Regions from separate parts of the Homo sapiens genome. Here all the other regions are linked to region 3. Evidence: promoter capture Hi-C in 16 types of primary human blood cells and fetal thymus (Javierre and others, 2016). All regions are on one chromosome and are shown on one strand. The core of a region is centred on a gene start or on the middle of the fragment in contact, and the rest is flanking DNA. Distances in the headings are between cores, read along the strand shown.

What was found. The method cuts DNA at HindIII sites, captures the fragments that hold promoters and counts their contacts. A CHiCAGO score of 5 or more calls a contact.
Region 1: a contact is called between the fragment with the promoter of VSIG8 here and a fragment that was not itself captured in region 3, in 1 of 17 cell types (total B cells). The highest score is 6.0, in total B cells.
Region 2: a contact is called between the fragment with the promoter of SLAMF8 here and a fragment that was not itself captured in region 3, in 2 of 17 cell types (total B cells and naive B cells). The highest score is 7.7, in total B cells.

The regions. Positions count from the first base shown.
Region 1 is chr1:159,860,846-159,864,862 of GRCh38, forward strand. VSIG8 (V-set and immunoglobulin domain containing 8) reads right to left here and starts at 1,812. Exons shown (of 7, transcript NM_001013661.1): 1 at 1,628-1,812. The coding sequence starts at 1,676. LOC107985216 (a long non-coding RNA gene) reads left to right here. Exons shown (of 2, transcript XR_001738263.2): 2 at 1-4,017. RefSeq lists enhancers at 313-1,227, 1,228-2,140. The HindIII fragment of the contact is 16,901 bases long and covers 1-4,017 here.
Region 2 is chr1:159,824,765-159,828,804 of GRCh38, forward strand. SLAMF8 (SLAM family member 8) reads left to right here and starts at 2,109. Exons shown (of 5, transcript NM_020125.3): 1 at 2,109-2,174. The coding sequence starts at 2,135. The HindIII fragment of the contact is 24,464 bases long and covers 1-4,040 here.
Region 3 is chr1:159,987,961-159,992,209 of GRCh38, forward strand. No RefSeq gene overlaps it. Among named protein-coding and RNA genes, the nearest start is that of LINC01133, 29 kb to the left of the region's middle. The HindIII fragment of the contact is 2,876 bases long and covers 1,288-4,163 here.

The sequences.
Region 1 (4,017 bases), core at 562-3,061, 130 kb before region 3:
TAAGCATTCAGGGAGAGGGGCTTGGGAAGGAGCGACAGGCTGCAAGAAAAGCACCTCCACCCTGCACCAGGCTGAGAGATTCTTCAATTGTCCCAGACCAGGGAGCCTCACCCAGCTTTTCTATCTCCTTAGAAGTCTTCTCAACCTCCTCCCAAGGGTTCCAGCCTTTCCGCACCCCTCCCTCTCCTTGGGAAGTTGCTCCTAATGTCTCACCTTGATTCCTCTTGCTGTAGCACTAAGGAAGTACTACAGGGAATGTGAGAGGAGAGGCTGGAGAGAGGGAAGAAAGGCAAAGTGGAAGAGAGAGCTGGATGGGAGACTTGAGGAGAGACAGGAATGGAGGAATCACATGGGCTCTCCAAGGAAGAGGACAGTGGTGATTCTTTGCCCCCCAAAAGCACCAGAAACTGGCCATGCTTTACGGGGTGTCATCTCAATAGTGGTGCCTACTCTCTGCTTGCAAATTCTTTCTGAATCTTCAAGGTGCTTCCAGAACTCCTGATCTTCCCTCTGGAGGTAAGGGAGGGGAGAAAAGGCGGCTCCAGCTGAGGGTATTGATGCGTTAATGCAGCCAGTGCTGAGTTGTCCTCACACACCCATTGACACACCACACAGGGGGAAGTCCGGGTCCCCACAGCACAGCTGGAGCCTCCCGAGTGGACTCTGCCAGCCCTGCTCTCATCAGACAGAGAAGGGCTGCAGCTATCCTGCCGGAAATGTCATCATTCCCATGCAGGTGCACGCACCCACACACTCACATACACATTCACGCTCACACAAAGGCTGAAAATGTCACCCCGCCTTCCCAAATTCCTCCTTCATGCCCCTTCATCCCAAATCCAGACTGCAAGAGGGACTCGGAGCCCTTTCCAGTGATGTTGGCATAGAATGCCCCTTGGTGGAACTTGCCCCAACCTGGGCAGGAAGCCACAATGTCCAAACTTGAGCCCTGCCCTGTGGACCTGTCCTGGTGGGGTGAGAAGTCTCTGGAGTTGCCATCCCCACCACCCTCAGGCCTCATCCTAGAGTGGGGCACTGCCCTGTCATAGCACAGGGGGCCCAAGGCTGAGGTCTCAGGCCTGAGCTGTCACTGGCCATGATGGAAGAAACCACTCAGACTTACACCAGACTTAGTCTCTTGCCCTTTCAAGGCAAGTGACTTCCCTGCCCCTTGGCCCTGGCCTTGGGAGAGAAGGAGTAGCGTTGGGAATAGCACACAGTCTGATGAAAATTGATCCTTCCCAAGCTCCTCCTGAGCCCTCACCCAATGCCCGTGCTTACCCCTCTCCTACCCCACCTCCAGCTCCTGCAGAGCAATCAATCCCTCTCCTCCTAGTCACGGCATGAGCTTGCAGGGCACCTGCACACATGTGTGAGCCCGACAGGGGACATATAAAGATCCACTCAAAGACCTCTGCACTACAGACACACACCCTGAACATCAGGCACAGGGTCTCCTGGGGAAAGGTCCCCTGGTAATACCCACACCCGGCTGCAGCAGGGCAAGGGTGGGCAGCACCCTGCCAGGCAACTCAGGCAGCCCCAGGCTCCACTGTGAGCCCTTGCTGCCCCTTTCCTTCCCACCTAGCCTCATGCTGGCTACCCTGCCCCCTGCCCAGCCCCGTACCTGGGCTCAGGCACACGAGTAGAAGGTGGAATGCTCCTCCAACTCTCATGTCTCTAGGCTCGGTGTTTCCTCCGTCTGGGCTGGGTATCCCGTGGGGTCGTAGTGGTGGGTGTGAGGGGGTAGGTGGAGGGAGGGGGAGCTGAGGGCCCAGACACTGCCTGGGGTGGCAGGAAGGTGCAATGAGTGCCCAGCTGGGGAGCAGCTGGAGTTATTTCTATGGGAGGGAGGGGGCCTGGTCCCCGCCTTGGGGAGGAGTCCCAGGAACCCTAATTAGCAGGGTGACAGGGTGGCCTACCTGGGCATTACCCAGCCCTCACCCAAGCTCTTCCCTGTCCTAAGAGTGGCACAGGACAGCCAGCGGGACTTGTAATTAGGCACCTGTTAAACTTCACTTCCTCCTGGCCACATCCTCAGGGTGACAACAGTCACCTCATTTACAGCTTCCAAGGGCTCCCCTCACCACTCATTTGCTGCCTCCTTCCCTGGGGGAAGTGGGGAAGAGGAAGGAGAAGCCAGGCTTGGGAGAAAGAGTGGCCAGGACCTGAAGAGTTAATCCTGATCCCAGGGCATAGGGTTCCCCAGGAGTGTCCAGCCCACCTTCCCCCAGGCTTCAGGCCTTTCAAAGGGACTCAGGCCTCCTGAGCTGAAAGAGGAGAGAAGGGGTGTGTGCAGGAACAGAGTCTCCTCCTGGCTGTCCCCTCTGGAACTGTCCTCCACACCCATACTCGACTCAAGGCCATCCCCAAGTGTAGGGGACCCCTGGGAGCAGGGGTGCTATGGGGGGTCCAGGGTGTGTGCTAGGAGTAAGGTGACTGATGGGCTAGTGAGGGAGTGTTGGAGAGAACAGCGCCAAGAGGACCAGGGAAGGGGGTGCCTGTGTAAGCGTGTGCACCCCTCAGCAATGTCTGTGGGAGGGAGGCAGGATGTCTGTGTCAGGGTGTCTCTGTGAGGATGGCTAAGCCCCTCTGAGTGAACTTCTTGAGGGATCGCTTGGTGTCCTGGCTTCTCTGCCCAGAAAGAGTAGCCAGGTCTTGAGGGTTAATGCAGTCCCAGTATTAACTGGGTCCTTGAGACCAAGGACCCTCATAACCTGGACTGGTCATCGGGCTGACTAAACCAGCACAGTTCTGGGTAAGTTCGTGCTGGGGTGGGGAGGGTCCTGGTAGGCATGGGGAGCAAGTGAAGGGCCACCCCTTGTTGGCTTGTCTAAGGGGGACAGAATGGGCATGTGCCTTGTTGGACTCCATGGTGGGAGTCAGGACATGAGTGACCCCATTCAATAGCTCAACTCCCTCAAAGGAGTCAGGGACTGCCCCCATCCCTACCATGGGGCACAGAAAGGGCAGAGGAGGAAGAGTGTTAGGGAGAGTTATGGGGCTCAGGGATGCTGCCAGGGCCCACCCCTCTGGGGAAAAATAAGTCAGAACATTAAGGAAACACAAGGAGTCCACGCGTCTCTGCATTCCAAGCCGTTGCACCTGAACTCCCAACAATAACAGGGCGCTCTGAGACCTACCAGATGTACACAATGAATATCTTTATTTCCTTATTTATTTTTAGGTTTATGGGATTGTCCTGCTCCCTTTGAAGAGCAGGGATCATTATCCCCATTTTACAGATGGGGAAACAGAGACCTGGAGAAACATGGGGATTCAGCCAATGCGGCTGGTGCCTAAGCTGGGATACCCAGGTACCCAGGGTGTCAGTCCAGAGAGGTCCAAAAAATGGTCTTGGTGATCCTGTGGATTACTAGACCCACTCACGAACAAGAACCATGGAAGGTCAGGGTGAGTGGGAGGGAAAACAGGTCAGACCACGAACAGAGAGATTGAGGAGAAAGCAGTAACATTGTGGTTCCACTAAACTACAGTGCAGGCTTCAGATTTAATTGGGTTCTGGATGTGGGCTAATGTTAGAGCTGGGGTTAAGTTTGGGGTTAGTTGAATTATGAATGAGGTTGAGGTCAGATTTGAGGTTGGGATTAGAGTTAAGGTTGGGATTAGGGTTAGAAATACAGCTAGAATTGAGGCTCAGGTTTATGGCTGGGATTTGTGTTACGATAAGGAATAGAGTTTTAGTTTCATTTACAGCTCTGCCTGGGAATACAGTTAGGGCTAAATCAAAGGCTGGGTTTAGATTGATTTAGCATTGGGTTAGAACTAAGTTTGAGATTCACATTGAAATAGGCTGTGGTTAGGGTTGGAACATGGTTTAAAGACACGTAAGCAGCGGGAGTTGATGGGGATCAAAGATGAGGTTTTATTTCTAATATAGAAAGACTTCAGCCTCCATCTGCTAAATCCAGGTTTGGCTAGAATTTTCAATCCTTAGTGCGGGGAGACTACTAATGGCACATGTTGATTGGGGTCCCAAGACTTGGAGGAGGAAGC
Region 2 (4,040 bases), core at 859-3,358, 160 kb before region 3:
AGATGCTCAATAAATGCCTGAGGAATGAATGACGGAATTGGCAATGGAGTCGTAAATGAGTTCCCTCCCTTGCCCTCTCCACCCCCATGACAGGCAGCTTCCCAGTTCTGCCCTTTCCTCAGTACTCTAGACATTTCCTTCATATGCAGTCCCTTCTCCTTCTCACAGGACCATCACAACAGACAACAGCTGTTGTTCAGGTTCCCTGGCCCCTTTGTTCTCTCCAACCTGCCCTGCCTGCTGTCCTCCCACTCCTACTTAAAACATGCAACAGCCCCTCTCTTCAAGCAGTGCTTCCGGAGCGGTCCCCCAGTCCACCAGCCACAGACTCACGCTGAGTGGGGTGCTTGTTACAACCACAGATTCCTGGGCCCTAGCTCACCCTGATGGCATCTCTGAGAATCCAAGTGCTGAACACAGTTGAGAGCCACTAGTCTCCAGAAGAACTTAACCCAGTTTTCAAGGCCTCCACAATCTGCCCCCAACCTCCTTTTCCATTCTTCCCACCCAGCCCTAAAGGATTCCTGTCTGCTGTCCCTTGTCCTCTGTGGAGCCTACTTGGTATTTTCCCACAGCCACATCCCTGCACGCTCTGCTCTCCCCTCCTGCCCAGAGCCCACCCCCAACCTCTGGCTCTCTCCTTTCCTCATATTATCTAAACCATGCCCATCTTCAAGGCACAGCTCAAATTCCACCTTCTCAAGAAGCGTCCCCTGCCCAGATCCGCGAAGCCCTCTTTCCCACCCACTTCTGAGGACTGACTACCTGTTTGCACAAAGTGGTGTCTGTCTGCAGATAACCCTTCACTTTCCTTGGTGTACCTATCTCTACATTTTGGTTGTGAGTACCTGGAGGGCAAAAACCTTATCCCAAAATCCTCCTGCTCACCACCCACCCCCACCCCATCCTATATGCCTAGTTCCTGGCTGAGTCCAAAGCTCAGTGTCCAGTTTGATTGACAGGCGAGAGGCTGTGCAGGACCAGATACGATGAGCCACACTCCAGACTAGCAGGAATTTTCCTCAGGGGCAACACGTCCTCTAAAAACCTTCACTGGCAAGAAACCAAGAAACTTGAAGTGAGAAGAGAAACAGGATGAGGAGGGGATAACTGTGGCAAAATAGACCACACTTCAAAGGCTGAGGTTCAAGTTCCAGCTCTGCCTCTCTGTGAGCTCTGCAAGGGGCCTAACCTCACTCTGGTTTTCACATTTTCCCATTTCTAACCAGGTAACAAGATGATCCTCTCAGAGGAGAGTTGCAAGGCTTACATAAAGCCAGATGTGTAGCCATGTCTAGAATGTACTCACTCACTTAACAAATACTCATGAAACATCTGTAATGTGCCAAGCACTGAGGGCAACACAGAAGGGAACAAAAGACTGGCTAAACAGTCTGTGAAAACCAGAAAACTGTCATCAACAACACAGCAAGAGTAAAGAGGGAGGTGTGGGCATGCACAGGACACAAGGAGAGGGCCTCTCACCTGCCTGTGGTCAGGAAGCCTGGAAGGATGTCCTCGCCGACTGCACAGCCATGTTCTGTTTGCAAGGATAGAGGGAGCAGCATGCCTAGTCGGGGTGGTGGGGAAAGTACAACACAGGGAAGTGTGAAATCAGTAGTTCTGAGAAGGAGGCCTTCTGGCTTGGGATGGCTGGAGGGCAGAATGACTGTGGGCGACCAGCCTGGAGAAGAAGGCCTGACTCAGGAGGGCCTGCATGCAGAGCAGAGTTAGTCCTCATCCTCAGGTCCACGGGAGGCCACAGAAGCATTTTAAGCTAGAATGAGGATGACAGATAGTAGTGAGGCAGGCTGAGATGCAGGAAGGCCAGCGAGATCCAGCAAGGAGGATGTGGCTTGTGTGGGGGCTGTTGTCGCCACGTGTTAGCCAACCATGTGCATGTGAAAGAGGCTGACTTACAAGAATCTGCTCCTGTAAGCCCAGAGAGGCCCAGGGACAACTTCCACTTTATTCTGGATGTTTTCACTTTTGGGACATCCTGTTCTGAGTCAAGATTCCTCCTTCTGAACATGGGACTTTCCAGAAGGACCACAGCTCCTCCCGTGCATCCACTCGGCCTGGGAGGTTCTGGATTTTGGCTGTCGAGGGAGTTTGCCTGCCTCTCCAGAGAAAGATGGTCATGAGGCCCCTGTGGAGTCTGCTTCTCTGGGAAGGTAAGTGGGGCAGGCAGATAGCCTGTCCTCGGAGAGCTGAAGGCCCCTCCCCAGCTGCCTATGCCAGACGTCTGGGCAGGGATCCCTCGACCTGGGTGAGAACCCAGAAGCTGAGGGTGGGTAGGAAAGACTAGAACAAGCTCTTGGGCAACATTTTAAGCTAGGCAGATACAAAGAGATGCAGGGTCCTGGGAGGGAGGAGGTGGCAGCTTGAGGGGTATTCTTATCTGTGAGACATGAGCTGTTTTGTGGCCCAGAGCAGTAAAAACGGAGCCAGTGGGTGATACTGCTGGTTTGGAGAGAAAGTCGGCTGTGAGAATGGTGAGGACCCGGCAGTGTTAGCATGCAGAAACTCTGCAGAGTTTGAGGAGAGTAGCAGAGGGCAGGGCAGAGCAGGGTTCCCCACAATCAGCAGAGTGTGTTTTCAACAGCCTGTGGGGGAGCTGAGGTCCCTCCCTACAGGCCTTTATAAGGGGAGGCAAGTACTAAGTAGGGATGAGAGAGGCTAAATGTGGCCCACGTGGACTTAGGGGTGGCCGACGGTGGTGTGATGTTGGGATGGCTGATACACGGGGTCTCCTCCACACCGGGCGATCCCTCTATCCATCTGATGCCTGAGTTCCCTTCCTTGGTCAACAAGCAGCCAACATGACATGGGTCAACACTGCCGGGCCATGGATGAGGGTTTATGGGGTGCAGCAAAGATTAAGATGATATTGTTTACATCAGAGGCTCATAGGGACTTTGGGTTGCTTTGTTTCATCTCCTTGCCTGAGTTCCTGGCCCTGAGAGCTCCAAAGCCTGCAGATTTCTTCAATATTTCTAAACATGTGCAGGAAATCACACCTTAACCTCAAAAAAGGCCTTGGTCTGTTTGGTGAGACAAAAATAATTTGCCTTTTTTTTTTTTCTTTGAGACGGAGTCTTGCTCTGTCACCCAGGCTGGAATGCAATGGTGCATCTCAGCTCACTGTAACCTCTGCCTCCTGGGTTCAAGCGATTCTCCTGTCTCAGCCTCCTGAGTAGCTGGGATTACAGGTCACTGCCACTAAACCCGGCTAATGTTTGTATTTTTAGTAGAGACAGGGTTTCATCATGTTGACCAGGCTGGTCTCAAACTCCTGACCTCAAGTGATCCGCCCTCCTCAGCCTCCCAAAGTGCTGGAATTACAGGCATGAGCCACCACACCCAGCCCAAAAATAATTTTTCAAATGGCCCTTAATGATCAAAGATCTGTGTGACTGACCTGGTACAGACCCCTTATTTTTCAGTGGTACTGAAGCCTGGGGCAGGGTGATGTGTGGAAGGGCACACAGCTGATCTGTGGCAGCACCAGGAGGAGCAGGTAGGAGCAGCTAGGTCTTGGCTGACATCCAGTGCAATTCTCTTTGTGTGTTACATTCCTGCTCTGCATTAACACTGAAGTCATCTCCAGTGTGAGAGGAGGTTGTTGGGCCTGGAGGACAGTGAGGCAGAGGGGGACCGGAATTATCATGGCCGACTGAGCAACCATCCAGATCATGTCTCATTGACCAAAACTTCATCACCTCTTATTCTTCCCTACACCCTGTGCCAGCGACAGGCATAGGGTCAGTCCTCAGCAGGGTAGGTCATTTATTCAATACCATTTACTAGGCTTCTCCCACAGTCTGTTCTTAAACAGTGGTGGGCACTGGAAGCAAACGATGGGGAGAAAGAGCTCACGGTCTAGTGGGAGATGCTGACTCATAAACAGGCAATAAGAATAGAGGGATAAGGGTAGTCAGCATGGTGGCCCCAGGCCACTGTGAGAACACAAGAGAGAATATGTAACCTCTCTTGGTTACATTACCTATGAGGGATAGGGGAGGTCGGAGGAGGCAGTG
Region 3 (4,249 bases), core at 1,476-3,975:
AAGGTCCCAAAGCAGTTGACTTTGAGTTAACAAAAAGGGAGGTGATCTGGAACGAGCCTGACTTAATCAGGTGAAAGACCTTGAAAGAGGAACCCTGGCCCTCCCTGAGATTGAAGAGATTCTCCTTGCTGAAGTAGCAGCCATTCTGAGGAAGCCTCCATGGAAAAGAACTGAGAATGGCCCCCAAGACCAGAGGAAGCCTCCAGCTGACAGCAAGCAAAACCCCAGGCTCTCAGCCATACCACCACAATAAAATAAATTTGGCCAACAACTTGAGTGAGGTAGGAAGCAGATTTTCCCCCAGCAGAGCCTCCAGATGAAAACTTTGGCTGAAGTTTCAGTCCAGCTGAAGCCTCAACTGCAGTCTCATGAGACTCTGAGCAGAGGACTCAGGTAGACCACACCTAGACTCCTGACCCACAGAAGCCAAGTTGATAAATGTGTGCATTGTTGGGAGCTGCTTGATGTGTTGGTGATCTGCTATGCAGCAATAGAAACTAATACAACATCTAAAGACTTCATATGAGGCAAACTAAACACTGTTCCAAGTACCCATGAAAATCCCAGAAGAGCTGACACCAACAGCCCAACACAGCCAGGTTTTTTCTTCCAGATTGGGACTTACAGTACCAATCAAAGAAGGTGGCTTTCATTTAGGAACCATGTGGTTCAAAACTACAAGTGTTTTTAAACATTAGAATCACACTCAGCATACTAAGATATCACACAAGATAACTGAGATTTAGGCAAAGCCGATTTGCCTCTCCTTCTCACTCTCATTCTGTGGTGTATATTCATTGAATGGAATAGCAGGTGGAGATTCTCTTACTATTTAAAGTGTTCTCTTGCTCACCGGGCACACTGGCACATGCCTGTAATCCCAGCACTTTGGGAGGCCAAGGTGGACCTCCCACTTGAGGTCAGGAGTTTGAGACCAGCCTGGCCAACGTGGTGAAACCCCATCTCTACTAAAAATACAAAAATTAGCCAGATGTGGTGGTGCATGCCTGTAATCCCAGCTACTTGGGAGGCTGAGGCAGGAAAGTCACTTGAACCTGGGAGGCAGAGGTTGCAGTGAGCCAACATTGTGCCACTGCACTCCAGCCTGGGCAATAGAGACTCCATCTCAAAAAATAATAATAATAATAATAATAATAGTACAGTGTTCCCTTGCTCAATACATAGTTGGGTTTGCTTAAGTTAAACAAGCATATAATGTAATTCCTTATTTGAGATTTTGTGTTTGCATTTTTAAATTAATAAGACATTTGTGATAAATTTTGGAGAAGCTTCTTTTACACTTTAAGACATCTAGTTTAGCCAAGACCATATTGAACCTGCCCATAGTCCATTGACAAGAGAAATGAAAATCCTCTTTCAGGAGGTAGCTGCAAAAGAATATGAATGCTTCTTTGGGCCCTCTATGTAAAACATGGCAACAAAAGGACTCAAGCCAGATCTTCTATCTCCATCCATCTCAGAAAGAATAATTCATAATGAGCGAAAAACAGCAAAATTGTGTCACTAAAATGACCTGAGACTTGGAATTAGGCAAAAGAAAATTCTAAGTGTTCTTTCAGTGCAGTACAGGGCATGATTTCTATGGACTATGTTATTTTACAATACTGTAGGAATACACCAGGCACAGTGGTTCGTGCCTGTAATCCCAGAAATTTGGGAGCCTGAGGCAGGAGGATCCCTTGATCCCAGGAAGGACCAACCTGGGCAACACAGTGAGACTCTGAGAGACAAGCGCTGGACACAGGAGCAGGCCACATGGGATGGTCTGGACAGGCTCTGCAGCACAGCAGCCTTCATGAGAAACAGGCAGAAGGGCCCGGGCATGAGAAGCTACTGCAAACAAAAAGCAGCAGCAGCTATAAAGGGCTTGTTCCCAAGCAACATGAATCATCTCTGAACTGGTCTGGTCCAATCCCTATAGTCTAACTAGCAAATATATTTTTTAAAATATTAGCAAACACACACACTAAAAACAGATTTTCATCTTTGCCAAGTGTGTGTTTTTTTCCTACACCAACCTATTATCCAATTCTCCTACAACAACTGAGTATCCTATAATTCAGTTCAACTCTGAGACTCAGTGGCGGGCAGACTCCACAGGCTTAAGGGCACAGTCCCATAGGATTGCCCTCACTTCTGATGCCAGTCACAAGCATCAGATCTCCAGGCTACCCACATTTGCATCTGACTTGGCTACAAAGTCAGGCTTCCCACACCCCACCCCTTGCCAGGGTTCAATAATTTGCTAGAATGACTCATAGAACTCAGGGGCCACTTTACTTACATTTACCGATTTATTATAAAGGATACAAATGAAGAGCCAAAGGAACAGGCCCAGAAGATGAGGTCCGGGAGGGTCCGGAGCACAGGGCTTCTGTCCCCATGGAGTTGGGATACACCATCCTCCCAGTATGTGAACGTGTTCACCAACTCAGAACCTCATTGTTTAAAGGTTTTTATGGAGCTTTTATTACATAGGGATGATTGATGGAATCATTGGTCATTGGTGACTAAATTCAATCTCCAGCCCCTCTCCCTTCCCCATATGAGGAGGGGGTGGAGCTGAAACTTCTGAGCTTTATCAGAACTTGATCAGAACTAGCTCCCATCTTAAAGTGATCTAGGGGACCCTGCCAAGAGTCACCTCATTAGCACAAACACAGATTGCTGAAAGGGGTGCATAATGAATAACAAAAGATGCTCCTATTGCTCAGGAAATTTCAAAGGTTTCAGGAGCTTTGCGCCAAGGACAAAGAACAAATTTTTTTTCCTATTATATATTCCAATGAATCCAGACAAGTTCATCAGAAAGTCAAACATATTGGTTGTCACAGTATATCTAAATAAGTTATATTTTTCTATGAAATGACAAAGATCATCATATTTGATCTAACCATATACTGTCCACAAGAGGCACATCTAAAACAAAAATAAATAAATAAAAATAAAAAATAAAAAGATAGAAAAAGATATAGTATACAAAAAGAATTAAAGTCCTAAACTATTAAAATAAAGGATAAGTAGTAAAAATCAAGATCTGCAATGAAGATGTGTTTGTCATAAATCTTTAGTTTCTGAATAAGAGGAAAATGACCAAAACACAATTGCTGTGGAGATTTCATCAGTTCTTAACAGATCAAGTAAACAAACAAAAGATGTAGAATGTCAGAAAAAAGTCATTGCTGGGATCCACTTTGTAAATATTGAAAAAAAAAACAAAAAAAATCTTTTTCAGGGTCTATGGAACAATTTTTTAAAATTGATTACATATTAAACCACTAAAAACCTTAAATAAATTTCAAGCCCAGAAATTTCATGACTACATTGCATACCACAATACAGTAAAACCAGAAATTGAAAAAATGTGTAAACAAAAATCGTCCAACTACTTGGTTTGAAAACACTCTTCAAAATAATCCACGGATCAAACAGGAAACGAAAACTGCAATTTACAGAACTCTTGGGCAATAATGATAATGAAAATACCACATATCAACATCAAGAGAAGACATCCACATCTGTAATCAGAAGTGTAAAATCAACTTTAGCCTAAAGCTGCAGACTTACTTATTTTAAGTTCGGTCTAAAGGCTTCTCAGTACATCGTGAACTGTAACCTACCTGGATGTATAAACAGACTGTAGCCTACTTTTGTGCCAATCAAGTTTGGGCCAATCACAGGCTGCCAACCATTCAAACTGTGTTCAAATAAGCTAAATGCCTGAGCTGTAACCAATCCAGCTGTTTCTGTGCCTCACTTCTGTTTCCTGTAAGTCACTTTTCTTTTCCTGTTCGTAAATATTGCTCCACCACACAGCAGCGCCATAGTCACTCTGATCCTATTCTAGTTTGGGAAGCTGCCTGATTCACAAGTCATTATTTGCCCAGTTAAGCTCTGCTAATGTTAATTTCTCTAAAGTTTATCTTTTAACAGAAGTGACTTCAAAGGGTTTGAGGAAAATGGTAATGAACATTTGTTGAGCAATTACTGTCTGCCAGACACTGTGCTAAGCACTTTTACAAGTGGTTTCTCAATGATTCCCCATAACTAACCTGAATTGCTTTAATTATCAAATAAGAAAGAATGAGAATATATGAAGTAAGCATATAACTCAAGATGTCAAAAAGAGGGATGTTAAATTAAGCTTTAGAAACAGAATAAAGTAATAAAGTTAAGAGATGAAACTCATGAGAAACCTGTGAAGGAACAGAATTGATCAATCAGCCCC